Linked DNA regions of Homo sapiens: regions 1, 2, 3, 4 and 5 are each linked to region 6. The links are contacts of gene promoters, found by promoter capture Hi-C in human tissues and cell types (Jung and others, 2019). All regions are on one chromosome and are shown on one strand. Each heading gives the region's core, a stretch centred on a gene start or on the middle of the fragment in contact. The rest is flanking DNA. Distances are from core to core; before and after follow the strand shown. Region 1 overlaps SGO2 (shugoshin 2). Region 2 overlaps LOC124906112 (a long non-coding RNA gene). Region 3 overlaps LOC124906112 (a long non-coding RNA gene). Region 4 overlaps LOC124906112 (a long non-coding RNA gene). Region 5 overlaps LOC124906112 (a long non-coding RNA gene). Region 6 holds the start of SPATS2L (spermatogenesis associated serine rich 2 like).

Region 1 (2,700 bases), core at 143-2,642, 230 kb before region 6:
TGGTGAAAACCCAATTGGCTTGGGATCAAGAGAAACTAGAGATAGTGAATAAATCTCTCAAAAAGCTTTGCTGTAAAGGCAAGAAGAGAGCTGAGATAGTAGCGGGGAAGTAGGTGAAGTAAGAGGTTTATTTATTTATTTTTTAAGATGAGAGATGATAACATTTTTGCATCCTGATGGGAATAATCCAGAAGGGAGGGAAAAAATTAATGATGCAAGAGGGAAAGGCACTCTACACTAACACAAGCCAACAGCAAAGGATAACCCAAGTGTCCAACAACAGGAGCCTAGTGAGGTAGATTACAAGTCCACTCTGGATCTATCCAAAGCAGCACCAAAAGAGAATGAGGAATCACTCCACATAATCATATGGAGAGATCCCCAAGATATGTCACATAAAAAGGTATAGAACATCTGGTATAGCATGCTATCTTTTGTGTAAAGAAGAAAAGTAAGAAAATATTTATTTTGTTTGTTTGTTTTTATATAAAGAAATAGATGAAAGCAATCACCTGCATGAGGTACAAGGAGAAGACAGAACGGAGAAGAAAGTAGCTGAAGGCGGACAAAAGCATGTGTGAAACTTTATTCTATACTTTTCTTATCTCGTTCTGATGTTAGAACAGTACGTCTATATGACCCATCACCTGCCCCACTTAGTAACAACTAGAAAGAAAAAGAATTTTAAAGCTTGGTATGCAAAAGTTAGTCTGTTAAATAGTAAGTTCAAGAAGGTAGCTACCAAGAATGTATACTGTGCCTTCACCTCCAGCTTCTCCATCTACCTGCTGTCCAGTTTTTACTTTTCCTTAATCTAGATGTTGACCTCAGCCCTCTGAATTCTCCAAAAAGAACCACATGAAAAGCATTTGGGAAATTTAGAATTTGTTTTAGAAAACAGTATAAAGTAGGACCAGCCTCTATTTTTTTCCCCAGTTTTTCAATTGTGTCCATCTTTAAAACAAACAAACAAAAAACAAAAACCCCAAAGTCTTTCCTCACTTAAAATGCTTCCTTTCTACTAATGTCTTTATGTTTCTGAGTCCATTTAGGAGCCAGTATGTTCCACTAACCTGTCTAATCCTGTTACTTTTAATAAAAACCTAATTTTCATATGACATTTTCAATAACCAATTATACAAAATGATAATATGCTGTTAGCCAGTTAAAACTGATATTATCATCAGTCCTTTGCACAAAACTTGAAATGTGAATCTCTAACCTTGATGTTATTTAAGTAATCTCAGTGATCCTCAGTAATCTAAAGAACAACACTATTTACATATAAATTCTACTTACCTCAGAAAGACTGCTCATTTCAATTGCAGTTATCAAGTTATTGTTCATGAGAGCTTCTATGTCTATAAGCTTCTTATTCTGCACATGTAAAATAAAGACCCCTTTTAATCAGTTAAGACTTGTAATTTATTATAATATCAGGCATTTATGAATGCCATCCATGTGAGAAAACTTAAAAAATAGTTGATATCATATTGAGCTAAAAATTGAGATCACATTCAGCTAAAATGGTATATTATATAGTACCAAATAGTATTATATAGTCCAAATAGTCATACATATCATACATACATACATGTATACACACACACACACATATGTTGAATACTTTAGAACAATTTTGTTTTCCTATAAACATTTTTCTATCTTCTCATAGTAATATATCACATGGCAAGAGAACAGTTTGTCAGCCACCGGAATTAAACCCACAAGTAGAGTAGGTCCTTTTTCCATTATAAAAAGTTCTACTCATTTTAGATTTAGATCTATAGTTGCAGCCTAGCTAATCATTGGCTCTCACTGTCCTGTCTGTGAACAGAGTTGAAATTTGGAAGGAAAAGAAACAACTATAATTCTCATTCTGTTTAGCTTGTAGCCAGGTAAATGCTGAGATTAAAAAAGAATAACAACATTCTGGGAATTCCTTTCCTTTCAAGAACACCGGAAGAACTATGACCATCTTTTAAAAATGTATTAATGTACCAAGCTTTGTTTATGATTAGCAATCGAATGTTGGTCAAAGTATTATACTGGTTTACACAGCACACAAGCACACATTTAGAATGTAGATTTAAAACACATATTTTATTACCCATTAACAGTTTGTACTTTGACATAGACTTACATGGTATACTGACTTTCAATAATTTTTCACTATTGGAGATTTGAAAAATATTTTTAAAGCTTCTATAATAATGCAGCTAAAAGATTTAAGTTATAATTAGAATTCAAAAACAATATAGCTTACATACCAAGTTATTTAGCTTTAGGCGAAGAAATGTGTTCTCAAAATTCAGTTTCTCTACTTCTTTTTGCAATAGCATCTTTTCAGTTGTAATTCTTCGAGAATTCTCTTTTTCTCTACTAAGAGCCTGAGCTAATGCCCTGTTGTTGTGCTTTAAAGATATTTTGAAAATAGAAGAATTATCTGTAAAAAGATTTTTAAAATGAGTTAATATTCAGCTTATACCTTAAGAAATTTTTATATTCCTTAGTAAAACATAGACAAAATGCATTTCACAAGTTTTAACTGAAGATTAGAAAAGGGAATAACAATACAGATGTAGTTTTGAGAAAAATAAACCCAGAGTTTAGAGGTGAGGAAATGAAAGCTAGACAGAAGATGAAGAATTCAAGAGTTGTGAGGAATGCAGAATATGTATAAAAAAGGAGTAAGAGGAC
Region 2 (2,700 bases), core at 167-2,666, 190 kb after region 6:
GGCCTCAGAAATAACACCACACATCTACAACCATTGGATGTTTGACAAACCTGACAAAAACAAGAAATGGGGAAAGGATTCCCTATTCAATAAATGGTGCTGGGAAACCTGGCTAGCCATATGTAGAAAGCTGAAACTGGATCTCTTCCTTACACTTTATACAAAAATTAATTCAAGATGGATTAAAGACTTAAATGTTAGACCTAAAACCATAAAAAACCCTAGAAGAAAACCTAGGCAATACCATTCAGGACACAGGCGTGGGCAAGGACTTCATGACTAAAACACCAAAAGCAATGGAAACAAAAGCCAAAATAGACAAATGGGATCTAATTAAACTCAAGAGCTTCTGCACAGCAAAAGAAACTACCATCAGAGTGAACAGGCAACCTATAGAATGGGAGAAAATTTTTGAGATCTACCTGTCTGACAAAGGGCTAATATCCACAATCTACAAAGAACTTAAACAAATTTACAAGAAAAAATCAAACAACCCCATCAAAAACTGGGCAAAGGATATGAACAAACACTTTTCAAAAGAAGACATTTATGCAGCCAACAGACACATGAAAAAATGCTTATCATCACAGGTCATCAGAGAAATGCGAATCAAAACCACAATGAGATACCATCTCACACCAGTTAGAATGGCGATAATTAAAAAGTCAGGAAACAACAGATGCTGGAGAGGATGTGGAGACATAGGAAAGCTTTTACAGTGTTGGTGGCAGTGTAAACTAATTCAACCATTGTGGAAGACAGTGTGGCAATTCCTCAAGGATCTAGAAGTAGAAATACCATTTGACCCAGCCATCCCATTACTGGGTATATACCCAAAGGATTATAAATCATGCTACTATAAAGACACATGCACACGTATGTTTATTGTGGCACTATTCACAATAGCAGACTTGGAACCAACCTAAATGTCCATCAATGATGGACTGGATTAAGAAAATGTGGCACATATACACCATGGAATACTATGCAGCCATAAAAAAGGATGAGTTCATGTCCTTTGTAGCAACATGGATGAAGCTGGAAACCATCATTCTGAGCAAACTGTTCCCAGGACAGAAAACCAAACACTGCATGTTCTCACTCATAGGTAGGAATTGAACAATGAGAACACTTGGACACAGGGCGGGGAACATCACACACTGGGGCCTGTCGTGGGTCAGGGGATGGGGAAGGGATAGCATTAGGAGAAATATCTAATGTAAATTATGAGTTAATAGGTGCAGCAAACCAATATGGCACATGTATACATATGTAGCAAACCACACATTGTGCACATGTACCCTAGAACTTAAAGTATTAAAAAAAAAAAGTTTTGGAGCAGGAACAAAAGGAAGTAAAGTACACTTGGAAGAAGGCCAATCGTGTGACTTGAGAGATGCAAGTGCCCCGTCTGACCCTTGATTTGGAGTTTTATCATTGGCATGCTTCCAGGGTTTGCATCTCTCCTCCCTTGATTTTTCCTTGGGGCAGGCTCTTTGCATGTGCAGTGGCCTGCCAGCACTTGGAAGGGGCTGCAGGCGGTGGTGTGTTTACTGAAGTTGTGTGCATGCTCGTTTGAGGCATTTTTCCCTTAACAATCGAGTATTGCTAGAGGAAGGTCATATAACAGTTAAACTCTTCTATTTTGCCTCTAGTGCACGTGCTTAAGCCTGCTCACCCAACTCCTGAGATCTTATTGGGAAGATGCTGATCACCAGCCTTAGGTATTTTCTGTCTTCTGGGAGACAGCCGTTCCCTGGCACCAGCTGCAATGAATTATCATTTTAGAGAGACAGTTTGATAACCATCTGACCATCACCTGATAGTTGTCTCACATTCCTGGAGGGGAAGCCCTCTCCTGCCCTACTCATGTCTGCCTAGCTATCTTCTCTAACAATATCAGACTTAGAAAAGAGCAACTTGACCCTCCCAGCACATTTCTCTCTGCACTCTGGAAAGGGCATAGCATCGTTTTCTCAGTTTCTGAAGCTGTCCTGCAGTTTCAATGGCCCTGGAAAACTCCCTTTGTCCATGGTCAAGGTGATAAGGTTGCTTGCATCATTGACATCCTGGACTTCTTGCCTTTTGCAAGGAGGAACCAACCCTCATACAGTCAAAAGCCTGCATACAGCCTAATATCTCTCCTCACATTTATGGGGGTTCCTAGGACTTCAGGTCCCTGGAAACCCGTCTCTTGCTCCTGACCTGGTTCTTGCTGTCCCATGTGATGTGACTGAATCAGACTCTGGCCAGCTGGAAGGAGAGAGAAGGACTTAAGATGCTGCTGTGGGGTACATGTGAGGTAGACCGGCCTGTCTGAGGAGTGGCAGTAAAATTTTGAAGGAAGAAACAGGTTTTGAGGGATTTTTAAAGAAAAACTACTAAATTTGATGATTGATAACATCTGTGCAGTGGGCTGGGCTTGCAGGGAGGGTTATGAGACATGGTGAGGCCAGAGTGGTCAAGTGACTGAATATTGTTGAGAGTGAGAAGTGAAAAGGGCAGGAGACCAGAACTGAGGCTGAGAGTGCAGCTATAATGATAAAGACGGGCCAGGCACAGTGGCTTACACCTGTAATCGCACTCTGGGAGGCCGAGGTGGGAGAATTGCTTGAGTCCAGTAATTCAGGACCAGCCTGGGCAATATAGTGAGACCCCATCTCTACAAAAAATTTAAAAATTAGCCAGGCATGGTGACAC
Region 3 (2,700 bases), core at 42-2,541, 170 kb after region 6:
AAGACTATTTAAGAATTGATTTGCAGCCAGACATGGCAGCTTATGCCTATAATCCCAACACTTTGGGAGGCTGAGGTGGGAAGACAGCTTGAGCCCAGAAGTTTGAGACCAGCCTGCTTGAGCCCAGAAGTTTGAGACCAGCCTGGGTAACACAGTAAGACCCCATCCCTATAAAAATTTTTTTAAAAAATAGCTAGGCATGGTGGCATGCATCTGTAGTCCTAGCTACTTGAGAGGCTGAGGCAGGAGGATTGCTGGAGCTGGAGAGGTTGAGACTGCAATGAGCTATGATTACACCACTGCACTCTAGCCTGGGTGACGGAGCGAGACCCCTGTGTCCAAAAAAAAAAAAAAATGTATATATATATAGAGAGAGAGAAAGAGAGACAGACAGACAGAATCTCTGACGTTAGAACCATACAGCTTTTATTTAAGTATTGCTTAAGATGTTTTTCAGACCCTGAATTCCAGCAACCAGTTTGAAGCCCCCCCGCAGAGGAACAGAATTAGCATGAGAATACAGCTTCTTCCTCTCTCTGTCCCATGACTTCACCCTGCACTCTTTGATTAATCAATGATCTCCACACTGTGGCCCACTCCAAAACTCTTAAAAACCCTAACTTCAAATTCCTCAGGGAGATTGATTTGAGGTTTTCTCCCATCTTTTAATTCAGTGACCCTACAATTAAACCTCTTTCTCTTCTGCAACCCGAAGTCTTGGCATATTGACCTGCTGTGTGTGTCAGGCCATGAATCTATTGTGGTTACAAGACAATGTCAAAAATCATTCACTCCTTTGGTTGACCCACTGTTCATTTACCTGGGATAGATTTTAGGAAAAGGAAGAGCATGGAAAACAAGAGTAAGAAAATGCCACAGCTGAAAAGAATATTAGCATAGTCACAAGATGTTGCAAATTGTCAAGTCATTTACAGAATGAGACCTGTATTTATGTGGTCTGGCAGCCTCGGTGTGCTTAACACCTTTAGAATCTGAATGCTTTTAGGTTGGGAAGAACTCTCAAGTTTATGAAAGCTTCCAAGCCTTTCTGTTCTCTTAAACCTGGCATACTTCATGTGTATTCCTTGCCTTATCTCTGAGGGCCTTGAGTTAGTGTGATATTGTGATATAATAAAAGATATATATTTTGTCTTTGTCACCAGTTCCTGTCACAGAGCTCTTAAAATCTTTATAATTTCCTGAGTAATAGGGGTAAGTGGAGCATCTTTTGTTATTCATAATGAGCCTATTTCAACCACACCTGAGTTTATGCTAATTAGGTGACTCTTGGTAGGCCCTGAGATAGCTTCAGGATGGGGTATGGTTGCCAGAGGAATAAGCCATGTGATTAGAGGGTTGGAACATTCAGCCCCACACCCCAACCTCCTGGGAGGGGAGAGGGGCTGGAGATTGAGTTCAGTCATCAATAGCCAATGATTTAATCAACCTTGCCAATGTATTGGAACCTCCATAAAGCCCCCAAATGATGGGGTATGGGGAGCTTCTGGGTCAGTGAACACATAGAGGTGCTAGGAGAGTGGTGGGCCTGGAGAGGGCCTAAATGCTCCACGCCCCTCCCCTATACCATGGCCTATGCAGCTCTTCCACCTGGCTGTTCTTGAGTTTTATCCTTCATAATAAATTGGTAATAGTAAGTGAAGTGTCTTCCTGAGTTATGTGGGCCATTCTAGCAAATTATCAAATTTGAGAAGGGAGTCATGAGATTTATAGCAGAAATTGTCTTTTCAAAAATTACAACAGTGAGAGAAATTTAACCTAACTGTCTCTATCTTGATTCTAAACTCATAAGCTAACTGCCTTTGTTAACCTTAAAAAAACGTTGATAACAGTCCCTTCCTACAACTAACCAATCCTTGCTTGGGGACAAAGACCACCTTTTTAGGACTAATGAAAGCTCAAAAGATTGGGATTGTGCGACGGGCCTGAATTCTGCTAAGATAACATTACTATTGTCAAAACCTAAGATTGGTCTTTGAAATATTTTTCAGACGTTTGCATTCTGGTAACCAGCTGACCCCAGGACCCATGACCCATACTAAGAAACTGATTCAACTGGTCCTATGACTCTATCTAGGAACTGACTCAGTGCAAGAAGACAGCTTCAACTCTCTATGATTTCATTTCTGACCCAACCAATCAGCATTCCTCACTCCCTAGCCCCCTGCCCACCAAACTATCTTTGAAAAACCACAGTCTCTGAATATTTGGAGAGGATGACTTGAATAATTACTCCCATCCTTTCTCTTGGCTAGCCCTCTGATTATTAAATCCTTTATTTGCTGCAATACTGCTGTCTCAGTGAATTGGTTTTATCTATGCAGCTAGCAAGATGAACCCATTGGGTAATAACATAGAGAGTCAGTCAGAAGTACAGGAGGCTGGGGACTTGCCATTGGTGTCTGAAGTGGGGACAGACTTATGGGCCTGAGTCCTTACCTTGTGGGGTCTGCACTAATTCTGGATAGTGTCTGAACTGAACTGGATTGTAGGACATCTAGTTGGCTTCTGGAGGGTTGGAGAACTGGTTGTTTGGTGTGGAAAAACACTGACACATTTAGTGTCAGAGTTGTAAATGAAAACAGCAGAGTTAGTGACCCCAAAAGATCTCCATATTTCAATGAGGAGATAAAGGCCTGTGGGAGTTGAGAGTCAATCTTTCCAACACCATGTAGCTAGTTG
Region 4 (2,700 bases), core at 181-2,680, 130 kb after region 6:
GAAGAGGGGACATGGGACATCTTTGTACTTTCCTCTCTATTCTGCTGTGAACCTAAAACTGCTCTAAGAAATTGTTTTTTAAAAATAGCTATCAATTAGTTAATATAAGTCACATGTCTAGAATTTACCTAATTCTATGAGTGAATAATAATAGTGGATTCAACACATTGAACGTTTACTAAGCGCCAGCCATTTAAATAAGTAATTTGCATCTGAAACTAATTTCATCTTTCAGCTCCTCTCCTGGGTAGGTATTATTATTACCGTATCAGTTTTATGGATAAAGGAGTCAAGTGTATAAAGGCCAAGTAAGTTGCCAAGAAAGATTTTAGTGTGCCCACTTCACAGCTGGGAAAACTGAGCCTAAAGAGAAATAAAAGCTCTTAACTACTCTTTGTTTCCTTTCCCTGTATTCTCTAACTCTAGTTAACACAGAAAACTGTATTTGCTTCTGTTTTTTGCTTTGAGATTCTGCTTTTTATGTGATGTTTAGTAACAGGCTAAGTTATTACATCTGAAGTGAATAGAAATAAGTCCAATTTGGCTCATGTTCCAAAACAAAATGGATAAGGGCAGATTCTATGCGGGTCATTTATGGACATATGCGGCTATATTGTTTTCTGAATGGACATGGAAACCATGATGATTATGATCTTTTGAAAAATTCATGATTGAAACAGATCCAAGTTAATTATGAGATGTGCCTTATGAGGTTGTGTGTAGGAATCATCAAGGAAAAGAAAGAACAGAAGGTCACAGAATTCGTATCCGTGCAAGCATATGGATCAGTGTCTAAACGCACACACACACACACACACACAGACATTTCCACACATCTGGCTTGATTCACAAAGAATCAGGAAATTCAGTTGAAACACAAACCATTTTTATTTGTGTACTGTCTGGAGAAATATCATGGAATGTTATGGAAACAAAACCGCAAGCAGGGCCATAGGGCCGCTCAATTAAGATCAAATAAGTAGCAGTGCCCAACCCCTGTGTAGGTAATTAAGACCCAGGGTCCGAATCCTCTGCCATCCCCATGTCTTCCCTTTTCATTTAGGACGAGTAACTGGGATAGGAAGATGACAGAGATTCAGACTGCGCTCTTATTATGACAGAGACAATAACTTTTTGTACAATGTCCAAAAAGAAATGGAAAAGATTTTTTTTTATTGTGGTTATGGGCTAGACCCTTGACTTTTTATTTCGATGAATCACACATGTGGTTTTCTCTATGGGTACAGAGTGTTTAGAACACTCTGGAAAATCAGTTTTAACAAGACTTCAGTGTGGCTACATTATCCTGCACATAGTAGGCACTCAATAATATTTATGGATCACTTATTTGACAAAATAATTCTTCAACAAATATATATTGAGTTTTTAACAGATGCCAGGGACTTTACTAGGCTCATGGGACACAACAACAACAAAGAGAGCACTCTTTTCTCTGATGAAGACTATGTTCTACTAAACAGGACATAAACAAATATGTAAAATATGTAATGTGTCAAATGGTGATTAACTGCTCTGGTAGGCTGAATAATGGGCCCCAAAGATGTCCACTTCCTAATCCCTGAACCTATAAATATGTTCCCTTATTTGCCACAAGAGACTTTACGGATGTAACTAAGTTAAGAATTTTGAGGTGGAGAGTTTACCTGGATTATCCAGGTGGGCCCAACATAATCTAAAGGGTCCTTATAAGAAGGAGAGGTGATGATGGAAGCAGAAGTAAGAGTGATGTAAGCCCACCAGCCAAGGGATGCAGGAAGCCAATGGAAGCTGGGAAAGGCTGGAATCAAATTCTCCCCTATGGCGCCCAGAAGGGATGCAGCCCTGTTTACACCTTGATTTTAGCCTAGTGAAACGGATTTCAGATTTCAAACTTACAGAACTGTAAGGAAATAAATTTGTGTTGTTGGAAGCCACTAAGTTTGTGATAATTTGTTACAGCAGCAACAGGAGACTAATACAAATGCTCTGGGGAAAATAAAGGAAAGGGAGTAGACGGTGTTGAGGTGGAAGAGGCTGAGGGCTGAGAGTGGTTGCAACTTAAAATAAAATGAGTAGGGAAGGTGTGCCAGATTGTAATGTCTAAAGATGGCAACATGATATCACCCATCCCACATGCTTTCCTCACAGTGTGACTTTGAAACTTCTCCCATTAGATGGTGGGTTGGGGGAGGAGTGGGGTTCTCTGTTCCTCTCCTTCCATCTGTGTGCGTTTATGGCTCTGGTGAAAGAGATACTGTGTCACTTCTGAGGCTGGGTCATAAAAGGTGATACAGCATCTGCCTGCTGCTCTTTGAGACATACTCTTGGAACTCAGCCACCATGCAGCCAGGAAGCCCACAGAGCTATGGAGAGGCCACATATAGGTGTTCTGGTTGAGGTATCCACTGACACAATTGCTAGACTTGTGAGTGAGTCAGTTTTCAACTCCCAGCTGTGATGTCACCCTCAGCTATTCTCACTGTGCCCTTGCTGAGTTCCTAACCCACAGAATCCTTGAACATATAAGAATGATTGTTTTTTTAACAACTGAGTTTTGAGGACATTTGTTATGGCACAAAAGTAACTGGAACAGAAGGCCATATTGAGAGGGCGACATTTAAGCAAAACCCTAAAGGTAGTAAGGGAGCCATCACAATGTCTAGTGAAAGATTATTCAAGGTAGGAGAAAATGTAACTGCA
Region 5 (2,700 bases), core at 125-2,624, 210 kb after region 6:
AAGGAAGGAAAAAAGGAAGGAAGGAAGGAAAAAAGGAAAGGAAGGAAGGAAGGAATTGGGTAGCACAGCGTGCTAGCAGCACAGACTCAGGATCCAGACTTCTATATTTGTATTCCAGCTCCGTAATTTGCTAACTGTGTGACTTTAGGCAAGTTGCTTAACTTCTCTGTGTCATAGTTTTGTCCTTTGTTAAACAAGGATAACTGTACTCTCCAACTCACTGGGTTATTAGAAGGATTGGTTATTATAAGGATTGTTAGTATTTGTAAAGATTTTATAAATGACATAGAACAGCACCTGTCAGAATGCCTGTATCTGTCAAATAAAAGCGAGCAATAAACATTGAATTCTGGAGAGTGGTCACTGGTGTGGGAGGAAAAAGGAATATTGGGGGCTTCCACTAAATTTCAAATATCTTATTTCTTAAGCTGGATGGTGGACACACAGATGTTTTTATATTATTATTTTTGATGGGTCAAAATATTTGAAAATTTAAAAGGGGATGCATAAACTATTTCAAATTGTCAAACTTGTTGGGGGAAAAGTTATAATTAAAGATTGATATTGTAGTATCTTTCAGAAATCTGGTGTATTAGTCCATTCTCACGCTGCTAATAAAGACATACCCAGGATTGGGTAATTTGTAAAGGAAAGAGGCTTAATTGACTCACAGTTCCACAGGGCTGGGGAGGCCTCAGGAAACTAACAATCATGGCAGAAGTGGAAGCAAATCATGTCCTTCTTCACATGGTGGCAGCAAGGAGAAGTGCAGAGCGAAGAGGGGAAAAGGCCCCTATCAAACCATCAGACCTCAGAGAACTCACTCACTATCACGAGAACAGCATGGAGGCAACTGCTCCCATGATTCAATTACCTCCCACCGAGTGCCTCCCACAACACATGGGGATTATGGGAACTACAATTCAACATGAGATCTGGGTGGGAGCACAGCCAAACCATGTCATCTGGGAAGAGAAGCTCCCTTAAAATATATGAGTCTAGTTTTTGAACCTTCAATTTTGGTAACATTTTCTGGAATATGTTGTACATAAAGTAGGAAACTGCTTATACCTGGCCTCAAACTTGGAAGCATCCCTAAACCTAGGGTACAAAACACTAGCCTTGGAATCAGAAAACCGAAATTCTGTCCGTGCTTCTGCTGTTGATTTATTTTGAGTCCCTGTGCCAGTCTATCTCCAATGACATCCTCGTGTTTCATTTTATCTGTCTTTAGGATGGATGTGTCGTCTTCCACCTCTTTTAAAAGGCAGGAATGGAACCATCTTTCCTTATCTTCAGCACAGAAGGGAGAGTTAGAGTTTCCTTTCCCACCCTCCCCGACTGCCTTTCACTAACTAGCAAAGACGTTTATTTTATTTTAATGAAGTCTGTGAAAAATGATTCATGCTTGAAAGCAGCCTTTTCCCTTTACTTAATGACAGCTTCAGCTTCTGAAAGTAAGCTAAAATGTAGGAAAAAAAATCCCATGTGGCTTTCAGAATGTACAGATGAGCATATGTGCTGTGCTTTCAAAATTTTCTTTGTTAGTGGATCTATTGTACACATAAGCAAGAGCAGTCTAGACCTTCAGAAGGGAGAATCGCAAAAAAGCCATCTTCTAATTTCCCAATTGTTTGTTTCCCAATTGTTCACTTTAGGGAAGATGGTGACATTATAGCGGTGACAGCCAGTCACTTCGATATGCGTGTACTGTTGCATTTCGGAGAAAACACATGCAGTTGTTTTCTCCCTGCTGTGTCTGATTTCAGACTCCCAAACTATCATTCATTTAAAAATAAAACAACAAAAAACCCTGCTTACCCCTTTCCATGTCGATAGGAATTATATACTGGTAATAAGAGGGCCTGGCTTTTAAGCCTATTTATTTGAAAAAATAAGAATGGGTGCCCAGCCCAGCTGATGTGCTAATGACATCTACTCAAGCTTTTTCCTCTTATTGTGTAGAAGATGAAAGCATTTGGCTTGAAGTGTTGTTCTGGCTCATCTCCTTCCGTGCATTCCCTCCCTCTTTCTCTGATTTCTTGCAGTTGGCATAGGGGGCCCTTGATGCATCTCTGGTTGACTGGGGGTCTTGAGCTTCCATCTAAACAGAGGTGGAATAAAGCTCAGAGCTTATTTTGTCAAGCATGGTTGCTTTCTTTTTAAGCCCACATATGCTAGAAGGGGAATTTAGTCCTTGCATTTCTGATTTGTTTATACTAAAGAGTTGTGTTGTGAGAGAGATATGATGTCTGTGAGACTGTTTGAACATTTTAATAAAGCTTTGTGAAAAACATTTTCTCTGAAAACAGGAAACCAGATTTTGCCATGTGTAAATAAATATAAAATACCAATGGGCTCAAAGCTCCCAACCTGAAGGTTCTGAATGGAGCCCATGCTTAAACAATTAATGTGATTTTCATCTTTATCTTGGAATGAGTGTAAAGTCTCCCCATATGAGTGTTATTTCTCCTTTTGCACATGATTATTACATCTCTGCGTTAAAGTTGGTTCTACACAGAAACAGTGCTACATCAGGCAATTCCCAGGATTCATTCATTCTTCAAACATACATTGAACTCTATAAGTGACTATTGGACACAGTGATACAAACATGAAGAAGATTCAGTTTTACGTTCAAGGAGCCCATGGCCCATGGTCTGGTTCAGAAAACTGACTTATAAACAGATGATGATGATA
Region 6 (2,700 bases), core at 49-2,548:
TATTTTAATATTTAAATTTCAAAAAATAAGCAATGAGACTGTGTTTGAAGTTCAAGGGTTTTCACTAGTTCTCAAGCTACAAACCCTGTAATATAGCCAAAAGAAAACGTACAGAAAGAATCTTTCACGAAAAGTGTCAGGTCTCCAAAACCCCGACATCTGCTAAAACCAGGATTGCGGGGGGGATGAGAAGCTCGTGAAGTTCAAAAACACACCAACCCCGCGGGAACACGAAACCTCCACTCGCGAAGACGCGACGCTTCCGCCGCATCCCCGCGCAGGTGAAGACTCGGCCCTTCAGCCCCGCGTGTGCGGCAGCATGATATTCAGAGTGCGCCGGCGTCCAGCGCGAGCGCATCCTACGACAACCCCGTCTCCCGCTGGGGTCCGCAGCCCGCGGACTCCGGGGTCCCCCCGCCCAAATGCGGCGGCGCGACCGCTTCGTCCCGCGGCCAGGGCGCTCCGCGTCTGCTCCGGCCACCCCAGCCCACCCGCGCAGCGCGGACGCCAACGCATCCCACTCCCGCTGGGCGCCAGGGGCGCGGGGTTCAGTGGGGCCGCGGCCCCCGCACCCGGCTGGGATCCGAGGGCGGGGTGGTCGCGGCTGACGTGGGCTTTGCGGCTCCGGGCCAGAGAGCAGCCTGGGGGACGGTGGGTCTCTTTCCGGCTTGGGAGGGAACGGGGGCGCCCGCGCGGGAGGACGGCAGGCGAGGGACGGCGGCCGCGGGCGATTCAGATCCGGGGCGGGCGGGTACACGTCGGAGCGCGGCGGCCACACGCTCGCCCGGGGAGCGCCACTGTGCGTCCCAGCCGGCGCCTCCTCCCGCTTGCCCGCGCCGGCTGGAGAAAGGAAGGACGGCGACCTTCGCGTCCGGTCCGCGCCACCAGCCCGCCTCGGCGCCGAGCGCGGGCCACACCCAGCGCTCCGGGAGGCGGCGGAGGCTGGGCGGCCCGGGCTGCGGAATGCTCGGCCCAGCCGAGTCTCCGTCCCGGCCGCGCAGGCCCCTCCGCGTCCGCCCGCGCCCTGCATCCCCAGCCGGCCCGGCGTGGAGGGGGTCCTGGGCTTACCTCTGTGTCGAGCGCCGGCTCCTCCGTCCCGGGCCGGAGCCGGGGCCCGGGGGCGCGGTCGCCAGGGGAGGCGCCGCGGCGGTGGCGGCCCCTGCGGCTCGGAGGGCGGGCCGAGCGGGAGCCGCTGCCTGGGCCGCGCGCCGTCCGGAGCTCGCCCCGCGCTGCCGGCGCTTGCAGCGGAGGGCGCAGCCAGCTCGGCCCCCGGACTGGATTCCTTCACTGACACAACTCCGGCTCGGCCGCCCCACGCAGGGACACTCCCGCCCCTCGCAGGCTGCCCCCGCCCGCCGACCCGCCCGCCTTCCCCTCGGTGTCACTCACCAGGAGCACACACCCCAGCCGGCGCCCCTCGCTCCCGCTCGCAAACACAGCGCTGCTCACGCCTCTCTCGGGTTTTGTATCCGCTCACACGCACGTTCTGACACAGATCTCGTCCCTCCACACGCCCTCCCTAGCTCCTTTCCCACCCCACTTTCTAGAAGAATCCCAGTACAGCTTCCGCACTTTGCTTGCTTGCTCCAGACCGACTTCCTCGCCTTTCCCCAAACCTCCACTTCACCGAAACTCCCCTTGTTAATGAAAGATTTTGTCACAATCCGCACGTGTTGCAAGAGAATCATCTTCTCCTACCCGAGAAAATGAACTTTGCTCCCTCAGCACTGTCTGCAAATACGAGATGTTTTTCCTTTTAGAAGGTAGTAATGCTTTCTGGAGAGGATCCAAGCTCAAAATGTAAGCAAAGATAGCCCATTCGAAAATGACCTGAAAAATCAGGCGCGGAAAAAGTGCTGGAGCTCGGGTCAGCCCTTGGAAACCCGACCAACCCGGGGTGTTCCGCCGCCTCCTCTGCGCTGCGGGTCTGCACACTGGGCTCCAAACGTGTGTGTAATAACCAAGTTACACATGGGCATCGTGGGCTTCAGCCGTGGGTTTCTGCCTGGGAGTACAGTAGTCGGGAGAGTAAAAGCAGTTTCTCAATCATTATTCATGATGGAAGCACTTTAGATAACACTCTTCTTCCAGAGGCAGTAGAGTGAAATGCAGGCAGCTCTCCAATTCAGGTTTTTATTTATTTATTTATTTATTTATTTATTTAGAAGGGTGACTTCTTAGCTTCCTTTTTTTTTTTTTTTTTTGGCAATACCAATAACTGTTTCTGAGTGGCTCCTTGGCTGTCAAGCTCCTTACAAATATCAGACCAGAGTTTGTTATGCTTCTCGAGCTCCAGACTCTAATGGGCCTCCGAGGGCACTGCAGAATCGTACATAATCCGATGTTCAGGAATTCATAATTTGAAATAAAATACAAACACCTTTCGGATAAAGTTCAAATCTGCTAACATAATGTGGCCCTGTTGACAACGCACTGCTGAAATAAAGAGAGGAGCTAAAACGAAAGGAATTCATTTTCTTATGTGACTTGGAGTGGTTCTTGCTACCTTATAGTCGCCTTGGATTGGTGTGTGGATAATATAATTTATTTAACAGACATTAGCAAGTGCTTTATAAGTACTAGCTCATTTAATCCTTGGAAGAACCCCATCAGGTAGGTACTACTTTTGTCCTGTTTTACAGATAAACTGAGGGCTGGGCCCAGTGGCTCACACCTGTAATCCCAACACTTTCGGAGACC

The links. The method cuts DNA at HindIII sites, captures the fragments that hold promoters and counts their contacts. A contact is called where the count stands out against the background at its distance.
Region 1: a contact is called between a fragment that was not itself captured here and the fragment with the promoter of SPATS2L in region 6, in 1 of the 25 tissues and cell types used here (hippocampus).
Region 2: a contact is called between a fragment that was not itself captured here and the fragment with the promoter of SPATS2L in region 6, in 1 of the 25 tissues and cell types used here (H1 embryonic stem cells).
Region 3: a contact is called between a fragment that was not itself captured here and the fragment with the promoter of SPATS2L in region 6, in 2 of the 25 tissues and cell types used here (bladder and mesendoderm cells).
Region 4: a fragment that was not itself captured here is called in contact with the fragment with the promoter of SPATS2L in region 6 in 2 of the 25 tissues and cell types used here (H1 embryonic stem cells and heart right ventricle).
Region 5: a contact is called between a fragment that was not itself captured here and the fragment with the promoter of SPATS2L in region 6, in 6 of the 25 tissues and cell types used here (IMR-90 fibroblasts, aorta, bladder and 3 more).

The regions. Positions count from the first base shown.
Region 1 is chr2:200,534,742-200,537,441 of GRCh38, reverse strand. SGO2 (shugoshin 2) reads right to left here. Exons shown (of 9, transcript NM_152524.6): 3 at 2,271-2,446; 4 at 1,300-1,377. Among named protein-coding and RNA genes, the nearest start is that of SGO2, 9.9 kb to the right of the region's middle. The HindIII fragment of the contact is 3,825 bases long and covers 1-2,700 here.
Region 2 is chr2:200,111,925-200,114,624 of GRCh38, reverse strand. The region is part of intron 1 of LOC124906112 (a long non-coding RNA gene); the gene reads left to right. Among named protein-coding and RNA genes, the nearest start is that of MAIP1, 160 kb to the right of the region's middle. The HindIII fragment of the contact is 3,372 bases long and covers 1-2,700 here.
Region 3 is chr2:200,134,667-200,137,366 of GRCh38, reverse strand. The region is part of intron 1 of LOC124906112 (a long non-coding RNA gene); the gene reads left to right. Among named protein-coding and RNA genes, the nearest start is that of SPATS2L, 170 kb to the left of the region's middle. The HindIII fragment of the contact is 4,189 bases long and covers 1-2,700 here.
Region 4 is chr2:200,171,542-200,174,241 of GRCh38, reverse strand. All of the region lies in intron 1 of LOC124906112 (a long non-coding RNA gene), which reads left to right. Among named protein-coding and RNA genes, the nearest start is that of SPATS2L, 130 kb to the left of the region's middle. The HindIII fragment of the contact is 5,433 bases long and covers 1-2,700 here.
Region 5 is chr2:200,093,763-200,096,462 of GRCh38, reverse strand. All of the region lies in intron 1 of LOC124906112 (a long non-coding RNA gene), which reads left to right. Among named protein-coding and RNA genes, the nearest start is that of MAIP1, 140 kb to the right of the region's middle. The HindIII fragment of the contact is 5,638 bases long and covers 1-2,700 here.
Region 6 is chr2:200,305,291-200,307,990 of GRCh38, reverse strand. SPATS2L (spermatogenesis associated serine rich 2 like) reads right to left here and starts at 1,298. Exons shown (of 13, transcript NM_001100423.2): 1 at 1,069-1,298. RefSeq lists silencers at 334-663, 684-1,413 and an enhancer at 1,824-1,923. The HindIII fragment of the contact is 4,989 bases long and covers 1-2,700 here.